4 separate regions of the Homo sapiens genome follow, and all the other regions are linked to region 2. Evidence: promoter capture Hi-C in human tissues and cell types (Jung and others, 2019). All regions are on one chromosome and are shown on one strand. The core of a region is centred on a gene start or on the middle of the fragment in contact, and the rest is flanking DNA. Distances in the headings are between cores, read along the strand shown. Region 1 has its middle 32 kb from the start of NOLC1. Region 2 holds the start of ELOVL3 (ELOVL fatty acid elongase 3). Region 3 overlaps GBF1 (golgi brefeldin A resistant guanine nucleotide exchange factor 1). Region 4 overlaps GBF1 (golgi brefeldin A resistant guanine nucleotide exchange factor 1).

What was found. The method cuts DNA at HindIII sites, captures the fragments that hold promoters and counts their contacts. A contact is called where the count stands out against the background at its distance.
Region 1: a fragment that was not itself captured here is called in contact with the fragment with the promoter of ELOVL3 in region 2 in 3 of the 25 tissues and cell types used here (H1 embryonic stem cells, heart left ventricle and stomach).
Region 3: a contact is called between a fragment that was not itself captured here and the fragment with the promoter of ELOVL3 in region 2, in 3 of the 25 tissues and cell types used here (IMR-90 fibroblasts, aorta and mesendoderm cells).
Region 4: a fragment that was not itself captured here is called in contact with the fragment with the promoter of ELOVL3 in region 2 in 4 of the 25 tissues and cell types used here (aorta, dorsolateral prefrontal cortex, spleen and 1 more).

Annotation. Positions count from the first base shown.
Region 1 is chr10:102,182,307-102,185,631 of GRCh38, reverse strand. No RefSeq gene overlaps it. Among named protein-coding and RNA genes, the nearest start is that of NOLC1, 32 kb to the right of the region's middle. The HindIII fragment of the contact is 4,792 bases long and covers 1-3,325 here.
Region 2 is chr10:102,224,995-102,228,197 of GRCh38, reverse strand. ELOVL3 (ELOVL fatty acid elongase 3) reads right to left here and starts at 1,899. Exons shown (of 4, transcript NM_152310.3): 1 at 1,549-1,899; 2 at 441-572. The coding sequence starts at 1,649. RefSeq lists a silencer at 1,868-1,917. The HindIII fragment of the contact is 12,375 bases long and covers 1,387-3,203 here.
Region 3 is chr10:102,280,899-102,284,501 of GRCh38, reverse strand. All of the region lies in intron 3 of GBF1 (golgi brefeldin A resistant guanine nucleotide exchange factor 1), which reads right to left. Among named protein-coding and RNA genes, the nearest start is that of GBF1, 37 kb to the right of the region's middle. The HindIII fragment of the contact is 3,528 bases long and covers 47-3,574 here.
Region 4 is chr10:102,264,175-102,267,643 of GRCh38, reverse strand. The region is part of intron 3 of GBF1 (golgi brefeldin A resistant guanine nucleotide exchange factor 1); the gene reads right to left. Among named protein-coding and RNA genes, the nearest start is that of GBF1, 20 kb to the right of the region's middle. The HindIII fragment of the contact is 6,652 bases long and covers 1-3,469 here.

The DNA.
Region 1 (3,325 bases), core at 409-2,908, 42 kb after region 2:
GACTCCACCCATGGCAGCTGAGCCACAAGCAACATGTTCCCAGTCAGGGAACCAAAATATGTTATTGAAACATCAGGGGTTCAGTCTAGGTCCTACAGCTCGCTGCACAGAAAGCCAATGACTGAGATGACAAGTATTGCCAAGGAAGAAGGCTTTAATCGGGTGCTGCAGCTGAGAAGATGGGAGCTCAAAACCTCAAATCCATCTCCCTGATCAACTAAAACAAGGGTTTTATACAGAGGGGAAGAAATGTAATGTGTAAGAAAACAGGAAGTAGGGAGGGCCAAGGAAGTAATCATGATGAATGAGGGGTCCAAAGTCTCATTGTCTGGATGTAGTGATCTGGTGAGTTTCAGTTCATTGATACTTTTTTTTTGCGGGGGAGAAGCCTGAAGGTCATTTACTAATGAAGGAACTCAAATAAAGCAAATATAAGTTTCAAGCTTTAAGACCAGAAAGATAAATTTTTATGTTTATCCAAAACAATAGTCTCTGGAACTATTGGGTTGATTTCATTTGTTTGTTTTTTACCTTTTAAGTTCAGGGGTACATGTGCAGGTTTGTTATATAAGCAAATTTGTACTTGTCACAGCGGTTTGTTGTACAGATTATTTCTTCACCCAAGTATAAAGTCTAGTATTAGTTATTTTTTCTGATCCTCTCTCTCCTCCCATCTTCCACCCTCCAGTAGGCTCCAGTGTCTGTTGTTCCCCTCTTTGTGCCAATGTGTTCTCATCATTTACCTCCCACTTATAAGTGAGAACATGCAGTGATATGTTTGGCTCTGTGTCCCCACCCAGATCTCATCTTGTAGCTCCAATAAGATGTGGGAGGGACCCAGTGGGAGATGACTGAATCATGGGGGTGGGTCTTTCCTGTGCTGTTCTGGTGATAGTGAATGGGTCTCAAAAGATCTGATGGTTTTAAAAATGGGAGTTTCTCAGCACAAGTTCTCTTTTTGCCTACTGCCATCCACGTAAGTTGTAACTTGCTCCTCCTTGTCTTTCTACTGTGATTGTGCGGCCTCCCAGCCATGTGGAACTGTAAGCCCATTAAACTTCTTTCTTTTGTAAATTGCCCAGCTTCAGGTATGTCTTTATCAGCAGCATGAAAATGGACTAATACAGTAAATTAGTACCAGGAGTGGAGTGTTGCTGAAAAGATACCTGAAAATGTGGAAGCAACTTCAGAACTGGGTAACAGGGAGAGGCTGAAACTATTTAGAGGGCTCAGAAGAAGAGAGAAAAATGTGGAAAAGATTGGAACTTCCTAGAGACTTGTTGAGTGGCTTTGACAAAAATGCTGATAATGGGTCAGGCATGGTGGCTCACACCTGTAATCCCAACACTTTGGGGGGCCGAGGCGGGCAGATGACCTGACATCGGGAGTTCAAGACCAGCCTGACCAACATGGAGAAACCCCTTCTCTACTAAAAATACAAAATTAGCCAGGCGTGGTGGTGCATGCCTGTAATCTCAGCTACCCGGGAGGCTGAGGCAGAAGAATCACTTACCTAGGAGGTGGAGGTTGTGGTGAGCCAAGATCACACCATTGCATTCCAGCATGGGCAACAAGAGCGAAACTCCGTCTCAAAAAAAAAAAAATGTTGATAGTGATATGAACAATAAGGTCCAGACTGAGGTGGTCTCAGATGGAGATGAGGAACTTGTTGGGAACTGGAGCAAAGGTGACTCTTGTTATGTTTTAGCAAAGAGACTGGCAGCATTTTGCCCCTGCCCTAGAGATTTATGGAACTTTGAACTTGAGAGAGATGATTTAGGGTATCCGGTGGAAAAAAGTTTCTAAGTAGCAAAGCATTCAAGAGGTGACTTGGGTGCTGTTAAAGGCATTCAGTTTTGGTTTTGTTTTTTTTTTTCAGACGGAGTCTTGCTCTGTTGCCCAGGCTGGAGTGCAGTAGCACAATCTCGGCTCACTGCAAGCTCCACCTCCCAGGTTCACACATTCTCCTGCCTCAGCCTCCCGAGTAGCTGGGACTACAGGCGCCCACCACCACGCCCGGCTAATTTTTTGTATTTTTTAGTAGAGACAGGGTTTCACCGTGTTAGCCAGGATGGTCTCGATCTCCTGACCTCGTGATCTGCCCACCTCAGCCTCCCAAAGTGCTGGTATTACAGGCGTGAGCCACCGCGCCCAGCCGGCATTCAGTTTTAAAAGGGAAACAGGGCATAAAAGCTTGGAAAATGTGCAGCCTGACAATGCGATAGAAAAAAAAATCCCATTTTCTGAGGAGAAATTCAAGCTGGCTGCAGAAATTTGCATGAGTAATGAGGACCCGAATGTTAATCCCCAAGACAATGGGGAAAATGTCTCCAGTGCATGTCAGAAGTCTTCACAGCATCCCTTCCCATCACAGGCCAAGAGGCCTAGGAGGAAAAATTAGTTTTGTGGGCTGGGCCAAGGGTTCCTGTGCTGTGTGCAGCATAGGGACTTAGTGCCTGTAATCCCAGCTACTTGGGAGGCTGAGGCAGGAGAATCACTTGAACCCAGGAAGCAAAGGTTGCAGTGACCCGAGATCTCACCACTTCAGCCTGGGCTGTGTCTCAATTTAAAAAAATAAAAATAAAAAATAAACAAGGCCAGAAGCAATGGCTCACGCCTGTAATCCCAGCACTTTGGGAGGCCAAGGCAGGTGGATCGCGAGGTCAGGAGATCGAGACCATCCTGGCTAACATGGTGAGACCCCGTCTTTACTAAAAATACAAAAATCAGCCAGGCGTGGTGGTGGTGCCTGTAGTCCCGGCTACTCAGGAGGCTGAGGAAGGAGAATGGCATGAACCTGGGAGGCGGAGCTTGCAGTGAGCCGAGATAGTGCCACTGCACTCCAGCCTGGGTGACAGAGCAAGACCCTGTCTCAAAATAAATAAAATAAAAATGCCAAGGCCAGGCGTGGTAGCTCATGCCTGTAATCCCAGCACTTTGGGAGGCCGAGGCAGGCAGATCACGAGGTCAGGAGTTCAAGACCAGCCTGGCCAAGATGGTGAAACCCCGTCTCTACTAAAAATACAAAAATTAGCTGGGTGTGGTGGCAGCGCCTGTAATCCCAGCTACTCGGGAGGCTGAGGCAGAGAATTGCTTGAACCAAGGAAGCGGATGTTGCAGTGAGCCAAGATCGCGCCACTGCACTCCAGCCTCGGCAACACAGCAAGACTCCATCTCAATAAATAAACAAACAAACAAACAAACAAATCTTTCATTCTGTAGCATTTCAAATTAAGGGGAGAAAAAAATAAATTGGCCAGGCTTGGTGACTCATGCCTGTAATCCCAGCACTTTGGGAGGCCAAGGAAGGCAGATCCACTTGAAG
Region 2 (3,203 bases), core at 650-3,149:
GGATGGGACTGAAAGTTGAGTTAAGGAATGGGGTTCTTGGGAGGGGTTAGGAGCCTGGGAGGAGATGTGTAGAGGGATAGGGGAAGACTGAAGGAGTTTGGGGGAGAAAATATGGGGAAGTTATTGGAGGGTCTTGAGAGAGGGTGTTAGGAGGTGACACTATTAGAGGCTGGAGAAATTAGTTGCGAGTACAGACTCTACGAAGGCAAGAGGGACAAAGCAGAGACCACCAGGTAGGGGTCTAAAAGAGAAGGAAAACAGGATAATATAACAGAAGAGGGTGAAGGCTGGGAGGGGAACTAAAGCCGAGAATGAGATGGGGAGAGTGTTACAAGGCAACTTGGGGACAGGATGGAGGTTGATGCAATCGGGAAAGCTTCAAGGGATAGAATGGTGGTCTAAGATCTAGAGAAGAGGCAGGGAGTGGGATGGGGTCTTACCTGAAGATTGCAAGGCAGAAGGACCAGAGGATGAGAGGCCCTTGCAGGTTGAAGCCCTTGCGTTCCTTCATGTAGTTCTGCCCCACAGCGATGAGAACCAGGTAGATCAGGGCTATGGGGAATGAGGTTGCCCTGGCAAGCAGAAGGCAGAGGGATGGGCTCATGGGTGGGTGCTGATTAGAGAAATGCCCACTCATCTCTCCAGGTGAGTGCTCTGGGTTGGAGTCCCAGTTCTGCCACTTACTAGCTATGTGACATTGGAAAAACCAACTTAATTCTCTGAGCCTTGGCTTCCTCATTTGTAGAGCGCGAATACTACATCTCTCCTGGGGGTATTAACGTATACAAAGTATCTAGCACAGGGCAGGAGCTATGTCCAAGGTTTCTGTGATTATTGCTCTCTCAGTGGGGTTAGAGGTGGGTGACGGCTGTCTGGCCCGCGCCTAGAAGCAGCCCAGGGCTGTGGTGTAAGAAGTGTGGCAATAGCTTCTCCCTGGTTGGGGCTCCTAGAAGCATACCAGGGCTGTGGCGTAAGAAGAATGTGGCAATAGCTTCTCCCTGGCTGGGGTATGGCAAATTGGTTGGAGCATAAAGTCAGCCTCCAAAACCTCTGGGGAGCTTTAAGGCAAAGCCAGAGAGCTCTTCCTGGGGAAAGCTTGGAAGAGCTCTCTGACTTCGCCTCCTTCTCCACAGCAGGAACGGTGGAGCACCTGGGGAACGATGGGATAATTGTAAAGGGCAGGCTGTCCCCCGGGCCCTGCACTGTGCACACACGCGCGCACACACAGCCACAAAGGACGGGGAAGTCATCTAGTAAGGCTTCAGATCAACCTCACGCCTCCAAGACCCTTCTCACTACACGCTCTCTTTGACTTCTGTATATTTCCACGTTCTCCCTCATCCTCTTATTTCTGCTTGCTTGCTTTCAGCTCTAATCTCTTTGAGGTGCCACATACTACCTGCACCTCGGACAAAGGTAGTGTGAAGCCAGTACAAGGGAGTCCCATAACTCTGCTCTGTAAGAAAATCATTGTGGGCATTCAATGCCACCCCCTCGCGCCCCGGCCCCGGGGCCCTGGCATGGCCTTTCCCTCTCCCAAAGTCTCACCAATACTCCTCGAAAAAGGGCCTCATGTCCTTGGACAGCTCGAAGTTATAGGGCTGGAACAGCTGATTTACTTCATGTGAGACATTCATGGCTGTGACCATCTAGTTTTGCAGAAGTCAAGGTCCAAAGCTTGGAGGCGCTGGGTGAAAGGCTGGGGCTCCGAGGATGGCGTGAACCTCGGGGCGAGACGGAACAGAGCCGGGACAGAAGGAACTCCTGGGCAAAGGGAGGAGGGCGTCGAACCTAGGCATGTGCGCGGCGGCGCAGCCAGCTATCCCGGGCGCAGCCACTGCGATATATAACGCGGACTTGCAAAGCTGCCTGCCCGGGCTGGCGCGACCTCTTTCCTGCGCCCCGCCGCTATCCAATCTCGACCAAGATACGCCTCTGCTCCGCCCCTGGGACGCAGTCCGCATTCTGATTGGTCATACTCAAGGGCCCGCCTGCCAGGCGTTTCGCACACCCCGCCCCAAGTCCCGTCGTAGGCCATCGCCCGCCCACTTCCCCAGCCTTTTCTCCCGTAAAACGTCCACCCCATCCTGTGCGGCCTTGCGGGTTCCCTTGGAACTGTCAACCGTGGCCTTTGCCTCGGTTTGCTTTAATCTTGACCTGCTTAGCAGTGAAGAGAGAGGAAAGGTGTCCTTAGGCTTTGGTGCTCCCACCCAGAAATGGAGGCGTCAGTTTCCAGGCTCCCTGAGATCCTGGGAAACCCAGGCCTGTGATGAGCAAATACTAACCTGGGCAACGCAGAGCTTCTGTAGTCCCTTCCACCTCCTAGCTTCGAGTCTGCGGTTGTGAGTGGGTGGAAGGAGATGAATTTTAAGGAGTTTTATTGTTGAGGTTGTTGATGTTGATGTTTGGGTTGTTGAGGCTGTTGTGGTTTCTTTATAGTTTCCTGAATTCCTGAACTGCTCCAGACTGACAGTAATAACCATGGAGAGAGGAAATGGGGTCACCCTCTGGGCTTCTGGAATTATTGTCTTCAGGTTTCCTGGAGGCCTCTTAGGGTTTAGGGAGGGGGAGAGCCAGTGTATCTCCCCAAGGCCTGTTGTTTTCTCTCCCTAACCAAATCTACTTCTTTCTCGCCTGTGTAACCAGCCCCAAAGAAATAAATGTTCTAAAACTTTTAAAAGTTTTACTTGGCTGTCCCTTATTTCTTTCCTAGGTTTTATGAAAGCGAAGGAGAAATACAAGGCTTGAGGGCAGTTTGAGATAAGGTGGAAATTTGCAAAAAGTGCTAAGAAACATAGATATAAAATAATTAAAATCAAGATGTGGGTATAAATGGCTATGTGCAGTAAAGCTCTAGAGCCAGAGGATCCAAGTAGGAACCCCAGCTCTATTTCCTGAACCTCAGCCACTGTCTATGCGAGGGTGTAGTGGAAGTCCTATCAGTGCCATCTAAGTGACTCAAAAGTGCATCTCTTTGTCTCTGTACCTCATCACTTCTCACCTGGTCACGTTACCTGGTTGCACTGCCTCTTTCTCTAATACAGTGCTTCTGCTCTTCACTGCATTGCAATCAGAAAAGAGTTCCTATACCTGGCTGATTACCAGATTCCTGAGCCTCAACTGCAGAGATTCTGGTCCTATAGGTTGTCTCAGACTGTACTTGGAAAACCACTACTTTCTGTTTGCTCATCCAGAAAACAGCT
Region 3 (3,603 bases), core at 561-3,060, 56 kb before region 2:
TTTATATGAAATATCCAGAATAGGTAAATTTACAGAGACAGAATGCAGATGGATGGCTACCAGGGGCTGGAGGGGAAGGGAAAGTGTGGAGCAACTGCTTAATGGGTACAGGATTTCCTTTTGGGGCGATGAAAATGTTTTGGAATTAGATAGGGTACATTGTGAATGTACTAAATGCCACTATATTGTTTCACTTTAAAATGGTTAATTTTATGTTATATGCATTTCACTTCAGTTTTTTAAAAAAGCTCTTGAAAATACAAGTAAAGATCCTCTTATCTCTAATTTGACTTTATTTTTCTAAAGTGCTTTAACAGGATATGAGCTTCCCTTCTAAGAAACCATGAACAATTTCCAGTTAAAGCCTGTCGTGTCTCCTCTATAGTTTTTGTAGAGACAAGCAGGTACCTCAGTCCATAGTGCAAAGGGTCACTTGGGATTCTTGCAAAAAGTGAAACTTACCTAGTTGCTTTCCACTCACCAAAACTGGTTGCAGAAATGTCAGTGGACGTCTATGTCTGTATTCCCACTGGAGGCTCACTGAACCTAAGCTTCTTTAGCAGCTAAAAAGTCTCCCCTCCTTGGAGACTTAACATCTATTGAGACTTCACAAAGATTTCACATTATACAAGACCACAGTAAGAAATTTCCTCCTCTTCCACCACAGCTCAATTCGGAGTTCTTTGGAAACACAGGTACTTCACTGTCTCCTGTTTTGCATTCTGAATAAGAGATCCTCCCACGTTTTTCCCCTACCTACAGGTTAAAACTTGCCAACAGACAAGACTTACTGGTAGAAGCACTTTGAATAGTCATTCTTCATATTGTCACTTTGTCTTTCATATTTCTCTTTCAAATTGTTGAGGCAAAAGCATTTTCAGAGTATGAGGTCTATCCTCTAGTATTCAATACCTGTTACATCTTTGCTGTCATCAACAACCTCCCAGCCTCCTAGCAGAAGGCCTCAGTCACCCAAGCCCTTAAAGACTCCTATAATTGGTGGTTTATACTTTCTCCCCTGTCCTAATCCCACTTCATCATGCCATGAAGATACACAATATTTGCAAATTTTCTAAAGCTCTTTCTCATTGTTTTGCTCATTGCTATTTCCACAGCTTCCTTTTGGAGATAAAGCCAGGCCCTTCCTGGCCTCAAGAATTTACCTGTGCCTGGACACAACTAGAAGAGGGCAATAGTCACCAGAGGGTCCAAACACAGCTTCTATGCTCATAGCTACATATAATAAAAGCATAAACGGAGAATGATCCCCTTTCCCATTAATTAAAATGGCTCTACTAACAAGTGGTTGTTAAGGGTATCAATAAACTGCCTACCCTCTGTCATCTTAGGTTGAAGTACTTTAAAAGTTACCTTTTAGGATCCAGGTACTATCTTCACTACTACTTCTCTGGGCAAGATGAGTGACTCCTTACCTTAAGATCTGATGGTTTGTACCTCAATAGTTTCCACCTCCTTGTGATAATCTTTTAATAGTATCTAGGATCATTAGTAACCCGCTACTTTACCTCCTCTCACCTCTCCCCTTTACTCATCCCTCCGGACAGAGCATTCAGAGTCAGTTAAGTGCCATGTCTTATTGAATTTTTAAATTTTTCTACTATCTCTTAGCACTGCAGTTCTGTGAATCTCCTTACTCCAAGCCAGAACTTCAGCCTACCCAATTAGAGACTGGAATTTAAAAACTCATGTTCCTATTCCCAGATAGTTAACACCACACGTGCTGGAAATAGGCTAGTTGGGTTAGTGTTCATGCTATACTCTCAGCAGACTTTCCTACTGAACCTGGTATCCAACAACAGGGACCAGTAAGCAGCCTGAAGTCTGTTGCCAGGGAACAAGGCTAACTCAGGATTTTCTGCCATCAGTTCCTTTGGTAGACATAGCAGAATCAAAGAGAAAGGGGTTTTCCCAAAATAATTGTGATTAAAATAATAATGTTAATTTGTCTCCAGCAAGACAGAAGAGTCCAGGAACAAGCTAGACTCACCTCTGTCTCTTGTTCCTCTTCAGTAAATGGCCCACCTGAAGGTTAGCTGTAAGTCTGCCCTTATTCACGTGAAAAGCAAATAAATAACCTCATCGCCTTTTTCCAAATCATAATCACACTTTAAAAGAAGCTTTTACTGTATAACCTTGAAAATGTTACTTAATTTTTCTGGAACCTGAGTTTTATCTGTAAAAGGGGAATATTAATAAAGGCACAGTCTATCTTGTGAGTTTTTGTGAAACTTGAAAAGAATACAGGCGGCCGGGCGCGGTGGCTCACACCTGTAATCCCAGCACTTTGAGAGGCCGAGGCGGGTGGATCACAAGATCAGGAGATTGAGACCATCCTGGCTAACACGGTGAAACCCCATCTCTACTAAAAAATACAAAAAAAAAAAAAATTAGCCGGGTGTGGTGGTGGGCGCCTGTAGTCCCAGCTACTCAGGAGGCTGAGGCAGGAGAATGGCAGGAACCTGGGAGGCGGAGCTTGCAGTGAGCCAAGATCGCGCCACTGCACTCCAGCCTGGGCGACAGAGCGAGACTCTGTCTCAAAAAAAAAAAAAAGAAAAGAAAGAAAAAAGAAAAGAAAAAGAATACAGGCAAACTGTTACAGCCAAGTGGAACCTAACAAGATGTGATGACTAAATGTAATGTGGTATCCTAGATGGAATCCTTGAACAGAAAAAGGCCATTAAGTAAAAACCTAATGAAATCTGAATAAAGTATGGACTTTAATTAATGATGAATCAATATTTGTTCATTAATTGTGACAAATGTGTCATATTAATGTAAGATGTTAATAACAGGGGAAACTGGGCATTGGATAGATGAGAACTTCTTTACAACTCTTCTATAAATATGTTTATAGAAATAATCTATTATAGATTATGTATGAGTCTAAGTTATAATATAACAATTTATATAAATATAATTTATAGATAATTTATAAAAATATAATTTATAGATTATAATTTATGTGCTTTATAGATTCTAAAATTGAAAGGCTATAATGAAAAACCACTTTATAAATTATAAAGTTCTAGTCAATTGTAAAATATCACATAATTTAGTAGATTTAGTATTTTATGCAGATTGTTGGTAAGGTAGGTAGCTATCTTAAGTAGCTCAGATAACAGAGATCACTTGAAGAGTTAAGTGCTGGTGTGGAAGAGTCTAGCCCCCAGAAATATCCCAGCTGTTTCCTGCCAGCTGGTGCCTCATGTCTGACTTGCAATAGAGTTGATTTTCTTTACGTAATTATTTTTGCCTCTCAACCCGTCTATTTCACTAAAAGAACAGTAACTTTTTAAAAAGAGGCTTTAAGCAGATAGGTGCTTTAATTTAAAACTTCAAAAAGTGAAACTTAAGGCATGGGTACGATAATTTATTAGGTCCATTTCCTAACTGGCTGAAACAGATCTGATCTCTACTCCCAACTTCAAATGTAGAAACATGCAGACATCCAGAGATAGAATTCAGCAAGTGTACCCATCCCCTGCCAACTCCTGCTCTGCCCTGGGAAAAAAAAGAAAAAGAAGAAAGCAAAAGTCCCAGAAGTGCAGGAAATTGTTTCTCAGACGAAAGACAACACTTCCT
Region 4 (3,469 bases), core at 420-2,919, 40 kb before region 2:
TAATAATGATATATTACTTTACTCCCTAAACTATAGACCCCTGTAGGAAAAAATAAAAGTAGGCACTTAATCAATAGGACTCCAGCAAATTTTTTTCATATAACATACTCGCTTTTGTTGTTGTTGTTGTTGTTGTTGTTGAGATGGAGTCTTGATCTGCCACCCAGGCTGGAGTGCAGTGGCACGATCTCAGCTCACTGCAATCTCACCTCCTGGGTTCAAGCAATTCACCTGCTTCAGCCTCCTGAGTAGCTGGGACTACAGGCATGCGCCACCGCACCTGGCTAATTTTTGTATTTTTAGTAGAGACAGGGTTTCACCATGTTGGCCAGGCTGGTCTCGAACTGCTGACCTCAAGTCATCCACCCGCCTTAGCCTCCCAAAGTGCTGGGATTACAGGTGTGAGCCACCATGCCTGGCACATATAATATACTCTTATTCAATCTTTTTCCTGACAATGACTACTAAAATCTCTTTTCTCTACACCTCCCCATTTTCCAAATGAAACAGATTAAACTTGAGGTATCAGGCATTCTCAAACAGTTTCTTTTCTACCTAAGCGGCTACTGCTAAGAGGCCCAGGCCAGACAGGTGTTAAGTCATAGTTCCTCCCAAGTTGGCTTCCAGACTCTGTTTAAATGTTCTCTGCAAACCTCTGGAGGTTAGATGGACTCAAACCTCCTAGCTCAGACTCTGAATTCACAAAGCTTGAGACAGACAGTACCCTACAGGTGTGTTTGTCCAGGATAAACTATACTTAAATAAACTCCTGACACATCCACTTTCTCCTGGCACGTGCTTCTCCCTCTTAAACTCAAGCACGCCATAACCTGCTGTCCCAGTAAGCTCTGTAAAGAAATATCCTATCCCCCAGAATTACGCTATGCAACCCACCAATGTCTTTGGGAATAGCTAAACTCTGGCCATAACAGCTTTACATGTGAAAGCCAAATAAGCAAATATGAGCTATTGTTTTTACTTATTTCTTTGGCTTGTTCCTTAAGGAAAGAGCAGGAATAAGAAAAGCTGGCAGCAGATTGCTCTCACTCATGGTCATCCATTCCATGCCTGATAGGGACCATATAGCATAAAGTAGAGGCTACAAAATGTTAGCTTTGGAATGATCAGCTAGAGTCATTAGTCCTGTCAAACCAGTGGCTATGAGGGCAGGAAGTCTGACTGATTGTTTACCATTACAGACCCACTTCCTAAGTACCTAAGAAAAATGCCTGGCACATACCAGATAGTCAATAAATATCAGTTAGAAGCAACTCAATAAGCTAGGCCCTGAAGGAATCCAAATCTTGGAGAATCCCCAAAAGAAAAGGTCTAAGAAGCTAGAACAATGTTATAGTTAATATGGGTACCTATACTGGGCCTCAAGACCACCTTAGTTTTTTTTTTTGAGACAGAGTATCGCTCTGTCACCCAGGCTGGAGTGCAGTGGCACGATCTCGGCTCACTGCAAGCTGCGCCTCCCAGGTTCAGGCCATTCTCCTGCCTCAGCCTCCCGAGTAGCTGGGACTACAGGCGCCTGCCACCATGCCCGACTAATTTTTTGTATTTTTTTAGTAGAGACGGGGTTTCACCGTGTTCGCCAGGATGGTCTCAATCTCCTGACCTCGTGATCTGCCCGCCTCGGCCTCCCAAAGTGCTGGGATTACAGGCGTGAGCCACCGCACCCGGCCCTCCACCTTAGTCTTACACTGAGAACCCCAGTCCTGATAACCAAAACTGGACATTAGGTCCTCAGAGCTAAAAAGACCTGGGACTAAATCTCCAAAGGCAAACTCCTCACCACCACACCCTCACACGCACATAGACACACGCACACCCTAAGAAGTCTTCCTCAAGCCCTGGCCCTGAAGGCTTTAAAGTAAGTCATTAAAAGATGATCCCATAAGAGAAGATTTTGGTTGTGATACTTTCTTTCATTCATTCATTCATTCATTCATTCATTGAAAGGGTCTCACTCTTGTCACTCAGGCTAGAGTACAGTGGCGCAATCATGGGTCACTGTAACCTCGAACTCCTGGGCTCAAGTGATCCTCTCGCCTCAGCCTAAGTAGCTGGAACTACAGTTGTACGCCACCATACCCAACTAATTTTTTTTATTTTTATTTTTGTAGAGATGGGGGGAATCTTGGTATGTTGCCCATGCTGGTCTCGAACTCCCAGCCTCAAGTAATCCTGCTGTCTTGGCCACCCAAAGTGCTAGATTACAGATGTGGGTCACTGCACCTAGCCTGGTTGTGATACTTTTAGACTGTTCCTCTCCTGTTTTAAACCAAAAATTTTCTGGAAAAGAATCTCTTTGTAATGATCTAAGTTTAAAGACCAAGGACAAAGACAGACTATATCTGGAGGCAAATGACTACAACCAAACACCACAACTCACAACTGACTATAGCCCTTTCCATAAAGCTATACTGGATGAAGGGAACTAAGGCTTGCAAGAATTTATCTAGTCTGGGAACAAAGAGATCAAAGACCACAGACCATATTGGCTAGAAGCATTCCCATAAACTGTCTACTCTTGTCAGATCTAAAACCAAGAGCAATATCAAGTATCCTGATATTTCACTTTCCCTTCCATGCCCCATCCCATGCCACAGATCCTACCACAAGGTCTAGCTGCGAGACTGAAGATAACTCCCATATGCAAGAGCCCCAAAAGATTCTTAGAAGAATAAAAGGAAATGTGTCTTTGGAATCTAAACCCATGGCAGGGCTTGGGCAGATGTAAGAGAGAGGCAGTGGCCCTTCTGCCCCTAAGGCCAGGACACCCCAGCCCTGCAGGCAGCACAGAGTTAACTACCCACCCGCTCTGAGAAGCACAAAGGTACATCACTGCAACATGCCTAACATTTACATTGCCTCTCTCTGCTCATTAAACAGGTTTTGGTTAAATAATGAACAAACTGTATTACAGACTCCAATGAGAATTCCAAAATTATAAATCAACTGGGAAAGCCCAAAGGGGCAGACAGACAGGGAGGGGGGAGAAGGATAATATTGACTAATATAAAGGGCGCAGCTTGACAGTGGATATTCCTGCCACACCTGATCAAACACACTCCGTGGGGGGAGGGGAAAGAGAGCAAGAGAGGGAAGATGGGACAAGACAGCCTGAAATTTGCATCCGGAAAAGATTAAAACGGATTCTTTGGGGATAGAGAAAATACATAATATATATTACTATAAATGCAAAACTGTACTAAAAGCTAACTCAAATGTCAAAGATTACAGTTTGAATAAATTTAAATATAAAAGCCATGTGCTTCCTTGAGTTAATGAGAGAGACATAAAAGGACAAACTGGGCCAGAAGCTGAACAGAGCCTTATGCTGCCTTTGCTGGGTAATGGGTCCAAAGCACAGCAGTGACTACAGAGACTTCCCTCCACAGTTCTGAGACCTGAGAAAAAACTGGCAAATCCATCACTTCTGCAGCCTACATTTGCCTCCTTT